2 separate regions of the Homo sapiens genome follow, and region 2 is linked to region 1. The links are contacts of gene promoters, found by promoter capture Hi-C in human tissues and cell types (Jung and others, 2019). All regions are on one chromosome and are shown on one strand. The core of a region is centred on a gene start or on the middle of the fragment in contact, and the rest is flanking DNA. Distances in the headings are between cores, read along the strand shown.

Evidence for each region. Contacts are between HindIII fragments. The study calls those that stand out against the background at their distance.
Region 2: a contact is called between a fragment that was not itself captured here and the fragment with the promoter of OC90 in region 1, in 2 of the 25 tissues and cell types used here (H1 embryonic stem cells and hippocampus).

The regions. Positions count from the first base shown.
Region 1 is chr8:132,057,677-132,061,094 of GRCh38, forward strand. OC90 (otoconin 90) reads right to left here and starts at 1,706. Exons shown (of 14, transcript NM_001080399.3): 1 at 1,665-1,706. RefSeq lists enhancers at 199-776, 777-1,353. The HindIII fragment of the contact is 9,699 bases long and covers 1-3,418 here.
Region 2 is chr8:132,125,526-132,128,525 of GRCh38, forward strand. It overlaps KCNQ3 (potassium voltage-gated channel subfamily Q member 3), which reads right to left. Exons shown (of 15, transcript NM_004519.4): 15 at 1-3,000. Among named protein-coding and RNA genes, the nearest start is that of HHLA1, 16 kb to the left of the region's middle. The HindIII fragment of the contact is 6,054 bases long and covers 1-3,000 here.

The DNA of each region.
Region 1 (3,418 bases), core at 456-2,955:
AGTAAGTAATAATCTTCATGACCTTATTCCTTTAAACACAACATTTCATGGATTAGGTCATTCTTTGTGTCAGGTGTTCCACTGAGCATGCCCCACTTGCTGTCTGGTGACAACCCTCCAAGACTTTGGCTATCAAGACGTCTCACTTTCTAGACCAGGAAACTGGGCTCAGAGGGTGAGTCACTTGCCAGGGTGGCCCTTGCCCAGAAGGGGGCGCTCTGGCAATGACCAGACCCAGGTGGGCCAGTCTGACTTGTTCTGGCTCCAATACCCTAAACTGCTAGGCCGGTCCTTTGAGACAAACTAAGCATTCCAGTGATGACTCACTGCGTAACTGTCACAATTATCGGTAGTACTTGCTTGGGAAGACCCTTAGGGTGGCCAGCTTCTTGCTAGGGTGTGGTGAAACACAGCAGGTGACAGCTTCCTTGCTGCGCACAAAGAAGGAAAGTCAGTGCCAGCTAGAAGGTGCCAGTTAGAAGCACGTGGTCAGCCCTGGGCAACAGTGAGGATGACCCGAATCTGGGGTACGTGCACATTAGGGTACGTGGGTGGGATGGTGTGGGGCTGCTTCTGAAATCCAGTATCCTCCTGTTGGCCAAGTCAGGCGCCCTTGGCTGTGGGGCTGTGTCTACCTGGAGGAAAGACCTCCTTCTCCTAATTTGCCCAAGGAAGTCTCTGGGGCTGTCGTGGCCTCATGGGTCAGTGCTGTCCTTGTGGGCCTGAGAAGGCTCCCGAAGCCTCGCCTTGGTCTGCATGCCAGGTTTGGAGTCCCGGCTCCCCTAGCTGTCTCCCAATGGCCGGTCTCATGGCTGCATAGCCAGTGTCTGAGCCCAAGGCCTTGCTGGTCGGACAGACCTGGGCTGGGGTCAGGGAGTTCAGGCTCTGCCTTTTGCTTGTCGAGTGCCCTGAGCCAGGCACTGAAGATGCCTGGAACTCATTTTCCTGGGCAGCGAAATGCATATAATGGTGTTTTTTCATCAGGGAATCATGAGGGTTAAATCTGATGAGTCTTATAAAGGTAGAACACCATCTCCGGCACTTGCTCAGTGCTCAGTGAGGACTGCCCATAATTAATGCTGATTGTGTTTCCACACCAGGTGCCGTGGGCGGGGTCATTGCCCAGGGCTATGTAGGATCCTCACTAATGTGAAGTGGTGGATTTTTCCCCCGGGTAAATTTGCCAGGTGCTCTCTGTCTGGCATTGCATCTTTTCACAGATCGACTCAGAGCAATTTGGGTTTTCAGCTATATCCTGGAGCAACATCCAGGTCTCAGACAGCCCTGAGAGCATCCCCTACCACCTTATCCTCCATTCATTTATCTCCTCATTTCCCCTCCATTCTTCTCTCCCTTCCTCCCTCTTTCCCTCTCTCCCTCCCTCCCTTCTACCCTCTCTTTCTCCCTCCTTTTCTTCCTTCATCAATTTCTCCTACTTTTCTTCCCTCCCCTCCTTCCTCCTACCCTTTCTGCCTCTTTCCATCTCCCAACCATTTCCCTCCCTCCCTCACTCTTTTCCTCCATCCCTCCCTCTCCCCCTCCTTCTCTTTCTCCCTCCCTTCTTCTCTTCTCCCATTCATTTCCCTCCTTTACTTGCTGTCTTCCTCCCTCCCTCCCTCCCCTGCTCTCTGTCTCCCCAACCATCAGGAATAACAGATGCCTACCGTGAAGGCTCCACTGGAGTGCAGCTGGATGAATGATGCTAGGGTTTGAACAGGTGCAGACTGAGTCCTTTATACCCCAAGGAAAGACCCTTAGCCATGTGATGCCTCTCCCCACTCCTCACATCAAGAAGGAAGCCTTTCATGAATGTTGGCAGGTGGGCTGCCTCTGAAGGGAGGAGGCATCATAATACTATAGCTTGGAACAGGTGAAGGCTCCATATTAAGAAGCCCCATCTTGAGCCTCAGAGGAGACCTCAGGCTCTAATTAGAGAACAATGGGTTCCCTGTTCTACCCCACCTCACCTCAAAGGCTAGGAGGCCCATGGATTATGTCTCAGGGTCATCATGGGAACTCTCGGGGGATGAAAGACTGATGAAAGTCATGTGGGCTCTCCTGCAAGATAAAGGGCTGGCTTTGTCTGGTCTAGTTCATTCTTTAGCAAGAGGATTTCTAGCGTGATTCTTCTTATATGTTCTTGGCCTCAGATCTCGGAATTTGATGCCTCTTTCCTTTAGGGCTTTTCTGCCCAAGCTGTGGGGTAGGGTGAGGTGGGGCTTTATAATCAGACACCCAAGGTTCCTCTGCCAGCCCTGCTACTGAGTAGCAGTGTGACCTTGAGTTTGTCACTGCTCAGCTTTAGCTTCCACATCTGTTAAATGGGCTTAATCCTACTAAGATTTCGAGGCTGAAGAAAGCCATATATAGTGTGTGGTATGGGGGCTCATTAAGTCCTAGTTCTTTTTGTCACTTCCTCATATCGCCTTGTGAAGGGTTTTCTTTCCTGATTTTGAAAGGAGAACTGGCATTTATTGAGTACGTGTAATGTACCACAAGTGTTTTATAGGATTTTGCCCTCATCATCCCTGCAGCAGCCCTTCCATTACTGCTTTCATAATCCTAGGAGCAAGGATTAATTAGCTCCACTTTACAGATGAGAAAAAATGGTGTCGTTGAGGTTGAGGCATTGTAGAAGCTCACGTGTAATGGAAGCATTCTGGAATGCAGGTTAGCCTGGCTGTGAACCCTCTGAGTTGCTCACTCTATGGCCACCTCCTGAAGAAGCAGGACTCCTCAAACGATTAAATCAGGGCACAATTGAGCCTCTATGGAAGAACCCATTGAAGGGCTTCTTCAAATAAGTAATTACTCTCATTCATTGAGGCTTGTGTTTGTAGATCATTAACTATTGTTCAGCATCTCATGTGATTTGAGGAATGAAGATGCATTGTCTGTAATATTTTCTCATTAGCACCAAAGACCCACCATCTCTAAAATGACTAAGCCCGTGGGCATCTATGGCTCAGTGCAGCAAAATCCATCTTTTCAGCATCTCAAGAGCATAGCTGAGATTGTTATTATGCTCAAGAGCATAACTGAGATTGTTATTATGCCTGAGCAATACAAAGGCATAACAATCTACATAGGTATCTTGTTCGAGACATTTCATGGGGTTTTGAGAAGGATCATTTTTTCCCATAGCTTACAACAGAGTATCTTAATCTTAGCACTGTTGACATTTGGGCCAAATTATTCTTTTTTTGTAGGAGTTGTCCCGAGCATTGCAATATCGCAGGTCTCTACTCAGCTGATGCCAGTAGCACTCCCTACCTTGTTGTGACAACCAAAAATGTCTCCAAACATTGCCAAGTGTCCCCTGGGGGCCAAATCACCCCTGATTGAAAACCACTGGCCTTCAATATCCCTGGAACCTTGGCCTTTTACCATTCTGTTGGTGGAATAAAGTGAGAGTGAA
Region 2 (3,000 bases), core at 56-2,555, 67 kb after region 1:
TAAACCCTGTTAAATGAATAAACAAATGATTTTTTCTTTATTACACCCCCATTTCAGTAGCATGGAATTATGAGGATGATTTTGCCAAATTATGAGTAGGTCCTATTAGATTAGGTTTTTCTACAGGAAATTATTCTTTCAAACTACAGTGTCTAGGAAGTACCTTGCACAAAATAGACACAGGATGCATAATTGTTGATTAATTAGTTCATTTTAACCTATACACCTTGGGGTTATCTAGTTATGTTTTCATGAAAACTAGGGCTTTGTAATATCAATGTCATGTCTAATAAGCCTAAATTTCCAGTTCTAAAAACAAAGTTATTCAACAACACTTTCTCAATTTGATGTGTTTTTCTTTTCCTGAAATAATTTTTTTCTTAAGCTTTTGATATTTGCTTTTGTGCTGACATTTGATAGTCAAAACTCAAACGATCTCAAGTACTTCTTTCTCAGCTCAATAGGATCATGTTTCGCTTAACATTTGTGAAGTTGATTTATCTAATTCATTTTGATCTTGCTAAAATATGACCTTTAAAATTTTTCATGTCACATTGTGACCCAGAAAGACCAAATACATACATGAGATCATAGTTTTACCTGATAATATCACTCCTAGTTTGATGATGGAATTAATTTGTCAATATTTCATGGAGTTCTGCTGAAACGATTGCAATTTCTTGGGCAAGTTTCAGAACGACTAGTATATCTGTGGTCATGTCATCTTGGGTCATGTTAACCAGTTCCATTGGATTATCATGCTGTTCCCTTGTCTGACAAAAGGATCTTTGTGAAAGCACACACTGTTTCTTCCCATAACTCACATTCAATTCCAGACCCTGAATTTCTGCTTGCTCACTGTGAGCCATATTGTTGAGATTGTCTGTGCATAGGCAACTTGAGCAGGTTTGGTTTGCCTTTCTGGAATATATTTTTTGGGGAACAAAAGGAGAATATCAAAGCAGAGTTATTCCAGAAGATCATTTTTCTCTTTTCCTTTTTGTTTTCTTAAATGGGAAAAAAACAGCTCTTAAGGTTCTTATTATTTATTCATTCATAAAACATGTATTTTGTCTATGTCTATACTGATAAAGACAACTTACTAGATGTTAGACAATCAATACTTCCCTACTACTGATCAATACAAACCCAATCTCTGCTGTCCTGGTCTTATGATCCAGCAGGGAAGCTAGACTGCCTGCCTATGGTTTAGGAAATAATACAAGCTCCAATCCTTTCTAGGTTATTAAAAGAATCTAAGGTAGTTCCTCCAATTTTGGATCAATGGTAAATACTTTAAGGTAGAACTCCATTGAGTTGCTGGAAAATGCATCATCTATTGGTAAAATACTTAAGATAGTAAGTTCTTCAAGAATACTAATAAGTAAGTTAAAAAATTAATTGGCGCATATGTGGAGAGTATGACTCACTCTCCTTTATTGTTGGTTTCCAGTAACTCATGTACATAAAGAAGAGCATAGTAACATGTTGGATGTTAGGCAGGTGATCATCTCAAGTGAAAGATTCCAGGAAGATCAGGATTCAATAATCAAGCCCTCAGGAAGGGGCATAGGGTTTCTTAGGTTGTAATCCCCACTGGCACTTTCAGCCATATTGAAGGAGTGGGGAAAAGGCCCAAATAACCCATGCCCTTTGTCCTTCAGATTGCCAGCATGTCAAATGGAAGCCCGTGGGGCTTCATGTCTGATGCATTGAGCATTCTGGTATATTTCCCATCTCAGACTTCAAGGTCTACACCCATCCATTTATGGGGCTCTCCATAAAAAACACCCTTCTGCTGCTCACAATGTCTGCCCTTGGCCTGGGACTTTGGGCTTTGGTTCTAAGTTCCTAAAGTCAGGGGTCAAGCTCTAATCATTACTGTATTCTGAGCTTTTTGTACAGTAACTGTTGACATGTGAGTTGAAAGGAACCTATCTCTGAGGAAGTGATTCCTCTCTCCAACATAGTGCCAGACTCTCGTATTAGGAAATGATGAAACCATCAACCAAATGTCTGCCATAGCTACTGTGGCTCTTGACAAGACTGTGAGGGAGAATAGCAGTGTCAGCTGCATACAGACATTTGTTTAGGTCATCTGGATTATCTTGATTGTCACCATGGCAACTATCCACAACCAGTGCCTAGGTGTGTGAGAAGAGTGATACAATAATACTGTGGCATGGTCATTTAGCTAATTCAGTCTAAGCCTAACAGAAACCTTTTCCATCAAAGTTTTTCAGAGAATAACAACATCTCATAAGAGGCCAGAGGATGGCTTGTGCTTAATATCACACCTGTACAGTAGGGCAGTGCTTCCCAGGCTGTCTGCTTACATTTTAGCTTGTCTTACGGTTACATATGGTTTTAGTATTTTCATTTAAAAAATCTGGGTTGGTTCCATAAATTTGGAAAAGTAAAATTGGACGGTTCTGGAAATTTTGCCTGTTTACACATCTGTAAATGTAGCTTGCTTGCATTATTTTTTTCTAGATCTGAAATGCATTGCATCAAGCAAGCATGTTTTGCAATAAAAGTGGAAATCCCCCTCCTGCTGGATAAACTGGGTGCTTTCCACGCGACACAAAGTCATATATCTTGACACAATCTCTAGGATGCATTATATAAATGGAAGAATGGTGTGGTGAGGGGAAACAAGGTCAGGGAGAGTGGGCAGACCTGACTTTTGAGTCCTGGTTCTCTATGGGACAACTGAGTGACTCTGGGTATGTCACTTTACCTGAGCCTAAGATTCTTCATTTATAAAAGGAAGTCCTTGGACTAGAAAATTTCTGTGTGCCTTCTTGACTTTAATTTCTATTTTAGATGGATATTTTGTACTTCAGTATCATGGGAAGAAATGAGAGTTGGAAATTCATTTTAAAGGCACTGAACTCAGCTCCTGCCCAGAGGGGCACTTCACTTCTGATAAATTCCATTGTCCTTGGCTACATAAATTGGAAACTATTTTAACTTTGTGTATGTGTGTGTGTGTGTGTG